6 separate regions of the Homo sapiens genome follow, and regions 1, 3, 4, 5 and 6 are each linked to region 2. The links are contacts of gene promoters, found by promoter capture Hi-C in blood cells and fetal thymus (Javierre and others, 2016). All regions are on one chromosome and are shown on one strand. Each heading gives the region's core, a stretch centred on a gene start or on the middle of the fragment in contact. The rest is flanking DNA. Distances are from core to core; before and after follow the strand shown. Region 1 has its middle 3.4 kb from the start of KRT18. Region 2 holds the start of KRT86 (keratin 86). Region 3 has its middle 19 kb from the start of KRT18. Region 4 has its middle 7.3 kb from the start of MIR9898. Region 5 has its middle 9.7 kb from the start of KRT8. Region 6 has its middle 17 kb from the start of EIF4B.

Evidence for each region. Contacts are between HindIII fragments. The CHiCAGO score rates a contact against its expected background, and 5 or more counts as called.
Region 1: a contact is called between a fragment that was not itself captured here and the fragment with the promoter of KRT86 in region 2, in 1 of 17 cell types (M2 macrophages). The highest score is 5.9, in M2 macrophages.
Region 3: a contact is called between a fragment that was not itself captured here and the fragment with the promoter of KRT86 in region 2, in 4 of 17 cell types (M2 macrophages, erythroblasts, naive CD8 T cells and 1 more). The highest score is 6.3, in M2 macrophages.
Region 4: a contact is called between a fragment that was not itself captured here and the fragment with the promoter of KRT86 in region 2, in 4 of 17 cell types (erythroblasts, activated CD4 T cells, M2 macrophages and 1 more). The highest score is 6.0, in erythroblasts.
Region 5: a contact is called between a fragment that was not itself captured here and the fragment with the promoter of KRT86 in region 2, in 3 of 17 cell types (naive CD8 T cells, endothelial precursors and M2 macrophages). The highest score is 5.9, in naive CD8 T cells.
Region 6: a fragment that was not itself captured here is called in contact with the fragment with the promoter of KRT86 in region 2 in 1 of 17 cell types (M2 macrophages); the score reaches 5.2 in M2 macrophages.

What each region holds. Positions count from the first base shown.
Region 1 is chr12:52,944,334-52,947,033 of GRCh38, forward strand. It overlaps a transcript of KRT8 not described here. Among named protein-coding and RNA genes, the nearest start is that of KRT18, 3.4 kb to the right of the region's middle. RefSeq lists enhancers at 1-16, 1,206-1,801. The HindIII fragment of the contact is 1,627 bases long and covers 620-2,246 here.
Region 2 is chr12:52,273,354-52,276,053 of GRCh38, forward strand. It overlaps KRT86 (keratin 86), which reads left to right and starts at 1,292. Exons shown (of 11, transcript NM_001320198.2): 1 at 1,292-1,369; 2 at 2,468-2,593. It overlaps KRT86-AS2 (KRT86 antisense RNA 2), which reads right to left. Exons shown (of 2, transcript NR_199073.1): 2 at 1-1,724. The HindIII fragment of the contact is 3,258 bases long and covers 1-1,808 here.
Region 3 is chr12:52,967,153-52,969,852 of GRCh38, forward strand. No RefSeq gene overlaps it. Among named protein-coding and RNA genes, the nearest start is that of KRT18, 19 kb to the left of the region's middle. The HindIII fragment of the contact is 7,174 bases long and covers 1-2,700 here.
Region 4 is chr12:52,890,380-52,893,079 of GRCh38, forward strand. No RefSeq gene overlaps it. Among named protein-coding and RNA genes, the nearest start is that of MIR9898, 7.3 kb to the right of the region's middle. The HindIII fragment of the contact is 2,470 bases long and covers 150-2,619 here.
Region 5 is chr12:52,913,443-52,916,142 of GRCh38, forward strand. It overlaps a transcript of KRT8 not described here. Among named protein-coding and RNA genes, the nearest start is that of KRT8, 9.7 kb to the left of the region's middle. The HindIII fragment of the contact is 8,808 bases long and covers 1-2,700 here.
Region 6 is chr12:52,988,040-52,990,739 of GRCh38, forward strand. No RefSeq gene overlaps it. Among named protein-coding and RNA genes, the nearest start is that of EIF4B, 17 kb to the right of the region's middle. The HindIII fragment of the contact is 7,088 bases long and covers 1-2,700 here.

The DNA.
Region 1 (2,700 bases), core at 183-2,682, 670 kb after region 2:
GATTCTCCCACCTCAACCTCTCAAAGTGCTGGGATTACAGGCATGAGCCACCTGGCCGAATCCAGGTCTTTTGACACCAAGTGCCCTATTCATCCCTTTGCCCTCCCCTAATCTCTGGGCAGATTTGAGTGAGGCGATAGGCTGGGGGATATGGCATTGGGATACTGGGGTTGCACCTGAGGAGAAGCCAACAGCACCAGGGTCAGAATGGGCAAAGGACATAAGCACAGGCAAGGCCATTCCTGGTGGGGCTGGGCCAGGGAGCTGAGGGGCTCCTAGAAGGGCCAGGTTCCCCGACTTCTCTGAGCTTCAGCGCCTGGAGGTTTCTGGGCAGCCACACGCTTCTCAGCGCTGACCCTTCCTCTTCCTTTATCCTTGGAAAATAACCCCTAGGGCACAAACCCAACCGAAGCAATGATACTAAGTGTCAGGGCATTCCTCGACTCTCCCACCCCTGGGGAAGAGGGCCTGGCCCAAGCCCTGAGAACCCGTTCCCACCTCCACAGGCAGTGCCAGGGACTCCAAATAGGGTGCTGAAATTCCAGAAGTCTTGATATCAGACTGGGTCCTGCACCCAGCTGCCACCCGCATCCTCCCCCTGCTCCGCAGCTGCCTCTGAAGCTTGTACCCTTGCCCCCACCTCTTGTCTCTCTGCAGTCTACCTGACTGCACTTTCTGATGACCCCCACTGACCTCTCCTAGCACCCCATGTTTATTAATTACTTAAACCTAAAGTATTTACGGAGCTCCACCTATGTGCCAGATGCAGGGCTGGGCAGGAGGATTCCCATTCCACCCCAGATTCCTTTTCCTTTGGGTTCTACCCCAGATCTCCCTCTGTCTCAACAGCTCTACCCTTAACTCAGCAGCCCTGGGATTTCTCCTGTGGGAGGGCCCCCTGCATGGGTATACCCTCCACTGAGAGTAGCTGAAAGGAGCCCAGGGGAGCCTCCCAGGCGATCCCTTCCTCCCTCCAGCCCACCCCACCACAGGGCCTTCTCACTGTCTCCAACACACTGGAGTCACCCTCAGTCTTTAAAGAAGAGGATGGGAATCAGTCTCTCCCTGTTTTGTGTATAGACCCCATCCTTACACCTCAGTTGCTGTTCCGAACACCTCCCTCCTCCAGGCTGAGCAAGGAATTTCCAGCCTAAATGTTAAAGCAAAGGCGGAAGGACTGCAGGCCTTCCAATCCTCCCTAATCCTCTCATCTCTCCACCACCTAGTTTCCCCAGAGCCATCAGCTCAAGCCCTTTGTGGGAGAATGTGGAGTGGGCAGTAAGAGCTGACCCACCCCTATCGGGTCATCTCTGAGTCTACTCTGAAGTTAAACCTGCCTCACAGGTTCCCACTCCCCTTCTGCTGGACGCTGGAATGCAGGACTGATGGTGGGTGGAGAACCATTTCCCCTCTTTCCGGATTCCCCCCTGCCGAGGCTCATTACTCTTTGTGTCTGTTCTGGGAGCTTCTCACCAGGGCCCCTCCTGCTCCACCCTTTCCCGGGACTGTCCTCACAATCACGCCATCCCCCTTTCCACCTTGCTTCCCACCCCCACCCCAGAACCCTAGTGCTGGGAATCTGGAGGCCGAGACCTTCACCCCAGCTCTCCAAGAGGCTCTCTGACAAAGTGAAAAAGCCCTGAGCCACAGAGGAATCTGGAAGTGGTGGAAAGGGGCAGGCTGGTGCTGGAAGCCCGAGGTCGGTATTTGCCCCATGCTGCAAGAAGTCAGGAATGTGGCCATCGACATCAGTAGGAGAGATAAAGTCTAGCTGGCAGCTCTCCCTCTCCAGCCCCCACGCTGCACCTCCACAGGTCCCAGAAGTTTCCTAGCAGTTGGGGTGGGGCAGGAATCAGACAAGGACCTGGGAATTAGCTTGGAGAAAAATTCTAGAATCTGTTTTGATTGCTGGTAGATTTCAAAGTGCCCCAGGGTTTTTAAATGACTCAGAGAGACAGACTTCAAACCCCTTGAGCCCGTCTTTCGAATTAAATTGACCCCCTTTATCTGCCCTCCTGTATATATTGAAGCCTTCCTTACTTTGAAGGAAGGCTCCAGTACAAATAATTAGTATTTGTTTGATGAATGAGTGAGTGACAATTTACACTCACATTCACTGCCACCTGAGGAAATAGACTGGACAGGTCTTACTGTTTTCCCTGTACAAGTGAAGAAATTGAAGTTCAGAGTTAGGTGACTTCCCCAAGGTTACACAGCTAGCAAAGTATCCAGGCTGGCTGACTTAAAGCTTAGCAATAACAGTAAAAGGCAGTACGTAGCTTGTTGACTCCACATACTTTATTATAAAATACTGCCCAACTTGACAGTTCTGGAATCCAGTGGGGGAATATAAAGGTGAAAGCAGGAGAGACCCCTCTGACTGGAACCTCTTACCTCCCAGAAGCCTTGTATGCAAAACCAGTGGGCATTCATTTGTATGTTATTTTGCATCCCGTTTGCCTCCCAGCCTTCAGCAGGCCCCGACCCTCCCCTGGCCAGCTTCCACCCTGACTGCCCCCTGGCTGGCTCCCATTGAGCACTGTGGGGCTCTCCCCACCATTAGGTGACAGATCAGGAACAATCCAGGCTCAGGCTCTTTATCTGTGCTCTGCCTCCCACCTGGCAGGTCCACTGGCCAGGCTTTTCCAGGGTCCCTTCTCTCCCAGGTCTGCCCTACTATTTGTCCTCCCCTTCCCCCTC
Region 2 (2,700 bases), core at 42-2,541:
GTATTTCATTTTCATTATATTATAATAATAAAGTAATATGCTAGTTATAAGAAATAAACTTAAAACATGAGGACATAAGTTGAAAGTAAAAGAATGTGTTAAGGTGATTGGTTAGATCAGATTGCCTTACACATAGTAGAAGTAAATGATTTTTCCATGAAACTTATTTCAGTAGATGTGGTGTATTTGTACGTAGGTAGTGATTCATGATACAACATATATTTCTTATTTAGAGTTGAGGTTAAAAAACAGTTTGACAACTAGTACCCCAAAGAACCTCTTGTTGAGGTCCACCAGCAGATATGTACAAGAAAGTTCATGGCAGCATTGTTTGTTACAACAAAAACAAAAAACACATGTGCTACCTATAGGAAAATAGAGATATATGTATATGTGTGTGTCTATATCTGTATCTATCTATATATATGTAGTCATACTTTGGAATACTATACAACACTGAGAAATAAAACTACATGCATCAAAAAGATGAATCTCAAAACTAGTATGTTGAGGAGGAAAAAGCAAGTCATAGAAATGTACAAGGTGTAATTCTATTTATATAAAACTTAAAGGTAGGCAAAACTCAACACTAGTTTATGGATACACGTTATGACATAGTAATAAAGAAAAGCAAGGGAATGACCAATATAAAAACTCAGGACAGTGGTTACTTTGGGGATCAGATGGGGTTGGAGATGGATCAGCAAAAATCCCGCAGGGGGCTTTGAAGGTACTGGTGGGTACACAAGGATTTGTTTTATTATTGTTGCTATTGAAATCAATAAATGTAGGTTTTGCATACTCTTTTGCATATATGAGAAATTTATAAAACAAAAAGAAAATGCTGACCACAGCTTGTGCTCTCTAGCCCCTACTCATTCCTACAGGTTAAAGTCATTGCCCTACCCAAGATTTCCTACCAAGTCTTGGGACTGGCATCCCCAGTCCCAATTTCTTGCCCTCCTGTCAATCTTCTGCACTGCTTCTAGACAATCACATCTCATGTCAGGCCACTGTCCTGCTCAGACACCCTCTGTGGCTCCCCAGTGCCCATCCATAAGCCTAAGCTCCTCAGCTCCACACATTTCCTCCACCTGAGGTAGCCTTCCCCTCCTCCACTTTCCTTTAAGTTCCACTTCAGCCCAGAAACTTCCATTTTCCCACCTGGGGTCAGAGTATGGCCCTCTTCTACCCTATGCCCCTGAGGCCTCCTGGGCAGAACTCTGTGATTGTAATGAGATGAGGTCACAGAGCCCCCAGGAAGAAGAGGCCCTAGTCCTCAGTGGCAAGGATTCTGGTAGCTCTTGGGCTGAAGCTGGGCTTTGGTGCTCAAGAGAGGCTTGGAGGAGACCACAGTTCTTTCTCCATGGTGAGACTCATACACGTGGCTCCCTGGTCACACAGGGATGAGGTGTCTTGGACTTCACCCAGATCTGTTGGGCATACAGCTTTTGGGAACAGGAGCAGAAAAGTTGGGGGCAGTGGGAACACAGCAGAAATTGAGATGATGTTTTGAGGTCTGTTCCCCCACACTCCATCTGCCCTAGAAGAAAGTTTGCAATGGGCTGGTGTGAACAGTTCTTGCTCTCTGGGTTGAGGGGGTGTGTATAACCTTGGTGGAGAGCAAAGAGCATGGGCTTAAAATGTAGTCTGGCTCAACTGTCGGCTGGCAGGGTCACTCACTCCCCTCTTGCACGTGGTGGATGGAATGAGCCCCAGTTTGCCTGAGGAAAGACAATGGGAAAAGTCACATCCATCTGGCCAACTTCATGGGTGGTTGTGAGGCCCCAGTGAGATCGTGGAGTAAAAGCTTGTGAAAAGCATCAGGCACTGTGCAAGTGTGAGTTATTGTTCCCTGGCTATTCGTGTATTGAATGCACATGGGGGCGAGGTGCAAGAAGGGAAGTGGTCCCCTGATTTCATAGACAGCACTTCCCATAGCAGCCTTGGGTTTGGGGAAGAAGCTGGAATCTAGATCACTGTCCCTGGTTTCTGATTAATGGCATTCAAATTAAGGACATTTCTTCCTAATCCTAGATTTTAAAATGTGTTTTTTAAATTAGGAAATATTGAATTTCATTAATTTTTTTTGTACTAATTTAAATGGTTAGATGTTGTAAACTACAATAATCAGTTTCCTAGAGTTTAACTCTCCCTGTTCCTGGGATAAACCCTATGTGATCTTGGTCCCAAAGCTCCCCTCAACAGATCACTGCCCTGTGTTGCTGCCCTTCCTGCCTGAGTTCAGGCTTCCTTTGGCATCTTCTGGCCCCATGGGCACAAGGCAAGCTCACTGTGTTCTTTCAACAACCTTTGGAGATAGGAAAAATGATCACTCCCATTTCACAGATGGAGAAAGGGATGCCCAGAGAAGCTAGGTGACCACTGGTGACAGCAGGTGGATGGGCAGCCCTGTCTGGCCTCCTCACCTCCTGACTACAGCTCCCCTCTGCCGTCTGCTCCACAGTGTGAGGAATTAAAGGCAACTGTGCAGAAACACACGCAGAGCCTGAAGCCCAGCAAGGAGGATCTGAACAGGCTTAATCAGGCCATCCAGTGGCTGACGGTGGAGGTGGGCAGTGCTGAGAGTCAGGTGAGAGGTGGGAGTGGGGGGCAACAGAGTGGCCATGGTGGGATGGTGACCATTATTTATGACAACTGCCCCTCCCCACCTACCCTTTGGATTAGATGGCTACACTT
Region 3 (2,700 bases), core at 160-2,659, 690 kb after region 2:
ATAGAGAAACCCCGTCTCTACTAAAAATACAAAATTAGCCAGGCGTGGTGGTGCATGCCTGTAATCCTAGCTACTTGGGAGGCTGAGGCAAAAGAATCACCTGAACCCGGGAGGCGGAGGTTGCAGTGAGCCAAGTTTGTGCCATTGCACTCCAGCCTGGGTGACAAGAGTGAAACTCCATTCTCAAAAAAATAAATAAATAAAATAAAATAAATAAACAGATGGTTCAAGTTTGGCCTCTCCCAGTAGGAATCCTCTTTGTGGCCTTCCTAACATCTGGCCTCCGTTTGAAGAATTTATGACAGTATAGCCCCTGTTGGATAATAATTGTATAATTACTGGAACATTATTGTTCCTTCTACTGGGCTGAAATCTGCCTCCTACTAACCTTCTAAACTCAGCTCTGCCCACTAGAGTTACACAGAACTCCCTCTTCCATTAGATTTCAGCCATAAGTGATTATTCTTCCCCTAACCTGTATAAAAGCAGCCCCAGTCACGGTGTAAGGATTTAGCTGCACTGCTGGCCTCAACCTCACCTGCCTGAATGAGCTGGAAAATAATTATCTACACAGAAACAGCCCAAGGAATTAGAATGATAGTGATGCTCAGATCCGGGGAGGCTGTGTCCCCCTGAAGGCCCTGGTCAGATCCTGGTGAAGTGGATGGTGCTGCCACAGGAGGGATGTAGGGTAAACTTCTCAGAGACTCAGGGCACTCCAGTGATCTGGGCCCAAAGCACACAGTTCCTTTTCCTCTCCCCACAATCCACACTGGAGCAGCAGGCTCTAGTGGGCCCCTCCCAGGCTGGCAGAACTTTCCCTATCACCCACTCCCCAGAAGCAAAAAAAGTTTAAAAAGCACCAGCCTAAGGCTGGGTGCAGTGGCTCATGCCTGTAATCCCAGCACTTTGGAAGGCTGAGGCGGGCAGATCACAAGGACAGGAGTTCAAGACGTGCCTGACCAACATGGTAAAACCCCGTCTCTACTAAAAATACAAAAATTAGCCAGGCATGGTGGTGCATGCCTGTAATCCCAGCTACTCGGGAGGCTGAGGCAGGGGAATTGCTTGAACCCGAGAGGCAGAGGTTGCAGTGAGCCAAGATCATGCCATTGCACTCCAGCCTGGGCAATGGAGCAAGACTCCGTCTCAAAAAAAATAAATTATTGTACATTTAAAAATAACTAAAAGAGTATAATTGGATTGTTTGTAACATAAAGGATAAATGCTTGAAGTGATGGATGCCCTGATGAGATTATTATGCATTGTATGCCTGTATCAAAATATCTCGTGTACCCTAAAATAGATACACATACTGGGTACCCACAAAAATTAAAAACTTTTTTTTTTTTGAGACAGAGTTTCACTCTTGTTGCCCAGGCTGGAGTGCACTGGCTCAATCTCGGCTCACTGCAACCTCCGCCTCCCAGGTTCAAGTGATTCTCCTGCCTCAGTCTTCCGAGTAGTTGGGATTACAGGCGCCCACCACCACACCTGGCTAATTTTTTTTTTTTTTTTTTTTTTTTGGATTTGGAGTAGAGACGGGGTTTCGCCATGTTGGCCAGACTGGTCTCGAACTCCTAACCTCAGGTGATCCACCTGCCTCGGCCTCCCAAAGCGCTGGGATTACAGGCATGAGCCACCAGACTCAGCCAAAATTAAAAACTTTAAAAAATAAATTAATAACCACAGCAGTAGCTAGTAGCTAATGGCTACCAGATTGGACAGGACAGTGCAGCACCAGACTGTAAGCTCCCTTTGAGCAGAGACTGGACTATCTTGTTCACTCTTATGCCCTGATACATAACACAATTCCAACACATAAACAGCAGGTTGTTATTTTCTTTTTTAAAGACAAAAATTTGAAATTGTAATTTTTATTAAATTGTAAATAAAATGTTATTTTATTTTATTTAATAACCTATAGCATTTGCCAATATCCAAGGTATAAATACTGCTGTCATGGTTGATTTAAAATGGTTTAATTCTGGGAAGCAAAATTTTCAAATTTAACAATCTTCTCTTACTAGCTTTTGAATGAATAAGCAAATGAATGAACAAATAAATGAGCAAATAACAAACCAAGAGGAGTCTCTGCATGCCTCACCCAAGGAAAAGAGGACAAAGGAGAGTAGAAGAATATTTCAAGATGCCAGCAGTCCTCTCACTCTCTTTGCAGGTCCTCTTTGTTCCAGGAAAGAGAACTTAGTGGGAGAACAATTGAACTTCCTCAGCTTCGCTTCACACACACCCCAGCTTTAAGAAAGCCCAGGAAGAATTTGTTTTTTTTTTTTTTTTTGAGACGGAGTCTTACTCTGTCACCCAGGCTGGAGTGTAGTGGCGTGGTCTCGGCTTCTCAGCTCACTGCAACCTCCACCTCCCAGATTCAAGCGATTCTCCCGCCTCAGCCTCTCCAGTAGCTGGGATTACAGGTGTGCACCACCACGCCCAGCTAATTTTCGTATTTTTAGTAGAGACAAGGATTTCACCACGTTGGCCAAGCTGGTCTCAAACGCCTGACCTCAAATGATCCACCTACCTCGGCCTCCCAAAGTTCTGGGATTACAGACATGAGCCACCTCACCTAGCCTTTGGATTACAGACATGAGCCACCTCGCCTAGCCTTTTTTTCTTTTTAAGGAAAAAAAGAAAAATAAAATCTCATCTTAATCTGCTCCATTTTTTTTTCTTTTTAAAGAA
Region 4 (2,700 bases), core at 135-2,634, 620 kb after region 2:
AATACAGGGTGCCTTGGGAACTTATCATAGAAACACGCCACTCAGTTTGTGGTGTCTAGAAGACTTTCTTGTCTTGTGGTGTCATAAAACTTTTTGTCTTGTCTTGTGGTGTCAGAAGACTTTCTTGGGGAAGCTGCGTTTGAGCGGAAAGCTTGGGAGTGACTAGGAAAGGCAGGGTGTTCCAAGCAGGGGGCCAGCCATGCAATGCCCTGAGCAGAAGCAAATTCCATGTAGGCTATGCCCTGAAAAGCCTGCACCACTGCATCAGAGAGCAAGGGACAGAGTGGCCAGGATGAGGCCTCAGAGGAGGAAGAGTAGGCACAGCCTGTGGGCCAAGTCAAGATTTAGGGCTTTATTCTGGGTGTCAAAAGTAAAGGGTTTTCCCATCATTCTGAGCAAACTATTGCAAGGGCAGAAAACCAAACACCGCATGTTCTCACTCATAGGTGGGAATTGAACAATGAGAACACTTAGACACAGGGTGGGGAACATCACACACCAGGGCCTGTCGTGGGGTGGGGGTAGAGGGGAGGGATAGCATTAGGAGATATACCTAATGTAAATGAAGAGTTAACGAGTTAACGGGTGCAGCACACCAACATGGCACATGTATACATATGTAACAAACCTGCATGTTGTGCACATGTACCCTAGAACTTAAAGTATAATAAAAAATAAAGAAAGAAAAGAAAAAAATAAAATAAAAATAAAGGGTTTTCCATATAAGGAAGTAACTGAATCTGATTCATATTTTTGAGAATGCACTCTGATTTTGGGGGCAGTGAACTATTCTGTATGGTACTGTAATGGTGGCTACATGGCCCCCACAGAATGTCCACACTAAGAGTTAACTCTAATGTGAACTATGGACTGTGGGTAATAATGATGTGTCAATGTAGGTTCATCAATCGTAACAAATGTATCCCTCTGAGGTGGGATGTTGATGATGTTGTAACAAATGTAGCCCTCTGGTGTGGGATGCAGGTGTAGGGGCAGAATGTGTATGAGAACCCTCTACCTCCTGCTCGATTTTGCTATGAACCTAAAATTGCTCTTTTTTTCTTTTTTTTTTTTTTTTTTTTTTTTGAGACGGAGTCTTTCTCTGTCGCCCAGGCTGGAGTGCAGTGGCATGATCTCAGTTCACTGCAAGCTCTGCCTCCTGGGTTCACACCATTCTCCTGCCTCAGCCTCTCGAGTAGCTGGGACTACAGGCGCCTGCCACCACACCCAGATAATTTTTTTGTATTTTTTAGTAGAGACGGGGTTTCACCATGTTAGCCAGGATGGTCTCGATCTCCTGACCTCGTGATCCACCCGCCTCAGCCTCCCAAAGTGCTGGGATTACAGGCATGAGCCACAGCGCCTAGCTAAAACTGTTCTTAAAAAATAAGTCTACTAAAAAAAAGTGCACTCTGGCAAGGGGCCCAAGTGAACCTTCTGTGATATAGGAAATGTTCTACATTACAGGTGTGAACATAAGTTAAAACTCATCAGGCGCCGGGCACGGTGGCTCACGCCTGTAATCCCAGCACTTTGGGAGGCTGAGGCGGGTGGATCACCTGAGGTCGGGAGTTGCCTGACCAACACGGAGAAACCCCGTCTCTACTAAAAATACAAAATTAGCCCGGCGTGGTGGCGCATGCCTGTAGTCCCAGCTACTCAGGAGGCTGAGGCGGGAGAATCGCTTGAACCTGGGCAGCGGAGGTTGCAGTGAGCCGAGATCGTGCCATTGCACTTCAGCCTGGGCAACAAGAGTGAAACTCCATCTCAAAAAAAATAAATAAAAATAAAAATAAAAAAACTCATCAGGTTGTACATTCCCCATTAAAGCACATTTTGCATTTTATTGTATGTACAATATGCCTCAGCAAGGAGGAAACAAAGGGACTTGTGATTGGCCAAGGCTGGCCCATTGTGAACCCTGTGTGCCTGGACAGAGGTCCTGTGATCTTAGGAGGAACAGTTCCTGAAAAGAAGTGGGGCGTGGCAGGAGTGGAGGTGGGGGAGCTTTGCATTACTAGAAGAAGGGGGAAGGGGTCCTGGCTAGACAAAGCAACTATGCCCACCACAATGTGTAAAAGGGCAGCGCGGAGAGTGAACTAGGGGGCCACCCACCATGCTGGTATCCTTCCCTGCCTTCCTTTCCTTGCAGTGGTGCTTCCTCTTCCTTTCCCAACAGGTAGAATCTATGATATATAATTACGTAGGGACATGCATGCACACATTTCTATCTATCCTTCATGAAGGGTATGTACTGTCCGCATTGTCACATGCCTTGCTTTAACATTCACTCCTCCATTCCCACCACCTTACACTCCAGTCAGCCTGGCCCTCGGTCCTTAGCCCACCTTCAGATCCCCCTACTACAGGGGAGCTCCTAGACCACCTTAGCCCAGATCAGCGGGCAGGCAGAGCAAAACCTTGGAATTAAAATATCTTCAGAAGAGTCCACAAATGCTTGGAAGACTCATCATTTTAATCCTGGGTGGTTGGGTCGGGAAAGGCAGGGTGGAGGGAAGTGGGGGATAATGGCTGGCTCATCTGGAATAGTCAAACAGGAACCTTCTTCTACACATGTAAATTTTCTAAAAAACTAAAATTCAGTCCCATAGGAAATCAAGCTTTAAAAACAAAAAGTCTACTAAAATTTAAATGTGCACACATTTTGCTTCAGCAATTCCACTTGTAGGAATTATTAAG
Region 5 (2,700 bases), core at 1-2,500, 640 kb after region 2:
AATTTTCAGGAGGGCAGAGGTGCATGATGATAAGCAGGTGTTTTTGAGCACGTGTCTTTATATGCATGTATCCATATAAATACAAAGCACACATGTTTGATGGGTTATCTCCCAGAACAAACAGCCTCACAGGCCCACCCCCCACCCTGTGGGCACACAACCTCAGCCTATAGCACACACGCCCTCTTGTCCCTCACACACTCTCTCAGGTTCACACACACCCCACCTGCCCTCTCACTTGCATGGCCTGACGCACACGCCAAGGTGCAGTACCACCTCACATCCTCATCTCAGGCACAAGCATGTGCGTGTACCACCCGTCAGAGTCCCGTGCACACCACCTTCCTACGAACGTCACACACATACCTGTGCACACACAGCCATATATAACACACATCCAAACTCAAATACACGGTTACAGGTTTGTTTGTTTTTTCTTTTATACAGACAGAGGTTTCACTATATTGCCCAGGCTGGTCTCAAAATCCTGGCCTCAGGCTGAGAGAGGTGGCTCATGCCTCTCTAATACTAGCACTTTAGGAGGCCAAGGCCAGCTGATTACCTGAAGTCAGGAGATCAAGACCAGCCTGACCAACATGGTGAAATCCCGTCTCTACTAATAATATAAAAATTAGCTGGGCATGGTGGCAGGCACCTGTAATCCCAGCTACTCGGGAGGCTGAGGCAGGAGAATCGCTTGAACCCAGGAGGCAAAGATTGCAGTGAGCCAAGACTGCCCTATTGCACTCCAGCCTGGGCGACAGAGCGAGACTCTGTCTCAAAAATAAAACAAACAAAACAAAAAAAAAATCCACCGGGTGCAGTGGCTCACGCCTGTAATCCCAGCACTTTGGGAGGCCGAGGCAGGCGGATCACCTGAGGTTGGGAGTTCGAGACCAGCCTGACCAACATGGAGAAACTGTCCTTACTAAAAATACCAAAAAATTAGCATAGTATGGTGGCGCATGCCTGTAACCCCAGCTACTCAGGAGGCTGAGGCAGGAGAATTGCTCGAAGCCAGGAGGTGGAGGTTGCAGCGAGCTGTGATCATACCATTGCACTCCAGCCTGGGCAACAACAGTGAAACTCCGTCTCAAAAACAAACAAAAAATCCTTGCCTCAAGCAATCCTCCCACCTTGGCCTCCCAAAGTGCTGTGACTCCCAAAGTTACAGGTGTGAGCCCCAGCTCCCAGCCAAAGGATACACATTCTTGATTGCAAGTGGCTGAAACCCAACTCAAACAGACTTAAGCATAAAAAGATCATTTCTTATAATTGAGAAGTTCAAGGGTGCATTTGGCTTTCAGCCTAGCCAGATAAGGGGCTCAGTGATATCATCAGGACCAAGACTCTCTTCCTGTCTTTTGGCTATTTTCCTCCATGTTAGCTTCGTCCTCGGGCAGGCCATCTCCCTGCTGCAGGAAGGGCGACCACTAAGGGAGCACCTCTTTCCCGATGCTTCCTGCTGAAGTTCCAGGGCTGACTCTCCAAGGCTGATATAGGTCACATGCTCATCTCTGAACCAATCCCTGTGGCCAGGGGAATAGAATACTATCATGTTGACTAGACTAGACCACATAACAAGACCCTGTGGAGGGGTGATCAGCCCCACCCAACCTATAGAGAAAGGGGAAAAAAAATGTGATTTGGGCCAGGCGCGGTGGCTCACGCCTGTAATCCCAGCTCTTTGGGAGGCAGAGGTGGGCGGATCATGAGGTCAGGAGATCGAGACCATCCTGGCTAACACAGTGAAACCCCGTCTCTACTAAAGATACAAAAAATTAGCCGGGCGAGGTGGCGGGCACCTGTAGTCCCAGCTACTCAGGAGGCTGAGGCAGGAGAATGGCGTGAACCCCAGGGGACGGAGCCTGCAGTGAGCCGAGATCTCGCCACTGCACTCCAGCTTGGGCAACAGAGCAAGACTCCATCTCAAAAAAAAAAAAAATGTGATTCACCAAAAGACCAGGAAGAAATGCTGGACAGGGCCAGGAACCATGCCTCACGCCTGTAATCCTAGCACTTCAGGAGGCTGAGGCGGGTGGATCACCTGAGGTCAGGAGGTCGAGACCAGCCTGGTCAACATGGTGAAACCCCATCTGTACTAAAAATACAAAAAAATCAGCCGAGCATGGTGGTGCATGCCTGTAGTCCCAGCTACTTGGGAGGCTGAGACAGGAGAATCGCTTGAACCCAGGAGGCAGAGGCTGCAGTGAGCCAAGATCCCACCACTGAACTCCAGCCCAGCCTGGGTAACAGAGCAAGACTCCGTCTCAAAAAAAAAAGAAGAGAAAAGAAAAGATAAACAAATGCTGGACAGGCAGAAACAACAGATGTTCACTACATATGCTAACCAAAATGTACACCAATAAAGACGTGGAACCAGAGAAGCCAGGTATAAAGATATCCGTGTACACACCGAGCCCTTCTATAAATACAAATACTACCTGGCCAAAGTCTACCTTCTGTACCTTATCAACGGAATATTGATTTCAGATAAATAAATGATTCAGATGTATGCTATAGGACTTCAGGGGAAGGAGAGAGCCCTTAGATCAAGCTGAGCTTAGGAAAGTAAGATATGGATGGAAAGATCTGGAAATGTGATAAGCCACTGGACAGGAGCGGGATTCCTATGGAAGAGTAGAAAAGCTAGATATTGGGGAGGAGGGTGGGACTAGGGGTTTCAGAGGCCAGACAGAG
Region 6 (2,700 bases), core at 8-2,507, 710 kb after region 2:
GGCAACAGAGCGAGACTCCATCAAAAAAAAATACAAAAATACAAAAATTAGCTAAGCATGGTGGTACATGCCTGTAATCCCAGCTACTTGGGAGACTGAGGCAGGAGAATTACTTGAACCCAGGAAGCGGAGGTTGCAGTGAGCTGAGATCATGCCATTGCACTCCAGCCTGGGTGACAAGAGCGAAACTGTGTCTCAGAAAAAAAAAAAGAAAGAAAGAGATGTTTGTTGTTGGCCGGGCGCGGTGGCTCACGCCTGTAATCCCAGCACTTTTGGAGGCCGAGGTGAGTGGATCACCTGAGATCACCTGAGGTCAGGAGTTCGAGAGTAGCCTGGCAAACCTGGTGAAACCCCGTCTAAAAATATAAAAATGAGCCAGGTGTGGTGGTGGGTCCCTGTAGTCCCAGCTACTCCGGAGGGCTGAGGCAGGAGAATTGCTTGAACCTGGGAAGTGGAGGTTGCAGTGAGTCGAGATTGCACCAGCCACTGCACTCCAGCCTGGGCGACAGAGTGAGACTCCGTCTCAAAAACAAAAAAGAAATGTTTGTTGTTTAAGCCACCCTGTCTATAGTAATTTGTTACAGCAGAACTGACTAAGACAGACACAAGATCAAGGTGGGAGAAAGTGTAACTTGACCCAGCTCTGTGATGAGTTTATCCATAGCTCCTTCCTCTATTACATTTACCTTTGATTTGTCTATTAGATAATACTCCACTATTTATATATTCATTACTCATTTATCCACAGATATACAATAAAAACATTAATCAGGTGAATTACTTTCTTATCAATACCTGCCAAGAAAATACAACTAACTATAAATTTGTAATAAACTCCCAAGGGGCAGAGGTTGGGTTTTTAGTTGCTTCTCAAACATACCCCATCATTCAAAAGTCTGAACTGGAAAGTAAGAAGGAAAAGAAGGAGAACTTTAGTATGCTAGTGTCAAACAAGCCTGTCCTAATAAGCAACCCCAAACTGCTCTCCTGTCTGGGTCCAGAATTGGGTTTGGTTTTGAAATACCACGTGGGAAATTTCTAGCCAAAGTCCTCACCAGTTCCTCCTTTGACTAACAATCTCCAACCCAGGAAGTGGGAACTACAGAGTCTTTGGTAGAGGTGGTTGGATTTACTCAAGAAAAAGCCCCACCTGAACTCCCCAAGCAGAAATCTTCATTAGAAAAATAAACAAAACGACCGGGCGTGGTGGCTCATGCCTGTAATCCCAGCACTCTGGGAGGCCGAGGCAGGCGGATCACGAAGTCAAGAGATCGAGACCATCCTGGCCAACATGGTGAAACCCCATCTCCACTAAGAATACAAAAATTAGCTGGGCGTGGTGGCACACGCCTGTAGTTCCAGCTACTCAGGAGGCTGAGGCAGGAGAATTGCTTGAACCCGGGAGGCAGAGGTTGCAGTGAGCTGAGATCACACCACTGCACTCCAGCCCAGTGACAGAGCAAGACTCTGTCTCAAAAAAAAAAAAAAAAGTAGAAGAACATTAAAAAAACAGGTTTAGGCTGGGTGCAGTGGCTCACACCTGTAATCCCAGCACTCTGAGAGACCAAGGCAGAAGGATCACTTGAGGCCAGGAGTTTGAGATCAGCCTGGGCAACATAGCAAGACACCCATCTATACAAAAAATTTTAGAAGTTAACTGGGTGTGGTGGTGCATGCCTGTAGTCCAGCTACTCAGGAGGCTGAGGCAGGAGGATTGCTTGAGCCCAGGAGTTCAAGGTTGCAGTAAGCCATGATTGCACCACTGCACCCTAGTGTGGGCAACAGAGCAAGACTCTGACTCTAAAAAACAACAAAAACTGCTGGACGTGGTGGCTCATGCCTGTAATCCCAGCACTTTAGGAGGACGAGGTAAGTGGATCACCTGAGGTCAGGAGTTTGTGACCAGCCTGACCAACATGGCGAAACCCCATTGCTACTAGAAATACAAAAATTAGCCAGGCATGGTGGTACACACCTGTAGTCTCAGCTACTCAGGAGGCTGAGGCAGGAGAATTGCTTGAACCCAGGAGGTGGAGGTTGCAGTGAGCCAAGGTCGCACCACTTCACCTCAGCCTGGGCAACAGAGCGAGACTCCGTCTCAAAAAAAAAACACACACACACACACACACAAAAACAAACAACAAAAAAAAACCAAAACAGAAATGAGGTTTACATGTTACAAGGCCCTGAAGAAGAGGAAAAAAACTGTGTATAAAATACCACCTGGATAAAATAAGCCAAATACACAACTAAATGGGAGACCAGGCCAACAGGATGTCTTGGGAAGATGTCTTGAAGTAGGAGGGGCTTCTCCTGCAAAGGATTTGGCAAGACTAAGAGGGAGCAGGCATTCCAGATGAAGAGAATGATGAGTAACATGGAAAAGCCCAGCGTCCGCTCCGGGCCAGGCAGAAGTTGAGGTGACAGATATAGTAGGAAAAGCAAGCTGAGGGCAGTTCATGCAGAGCTTTCAATGCTGGAGAGTAGGGCCTTGGAAAGAGATGTGGTGACACAGTAAGAGCGCTCTTTCAGGGAGATTTATCCAGGAACTATGTGCTAGGTGGATGGGCGGAGATGAACTCAAGTGGGACAATTCCTGAAGCAGCACAGAGGGGAAAGGAAAGTCATAGTTAGAGCGGAGTTCATGGGGACGGAGGAGAAGGGAAGGATAGGAACCCCTACCACCTTCTCCCTTGCTCA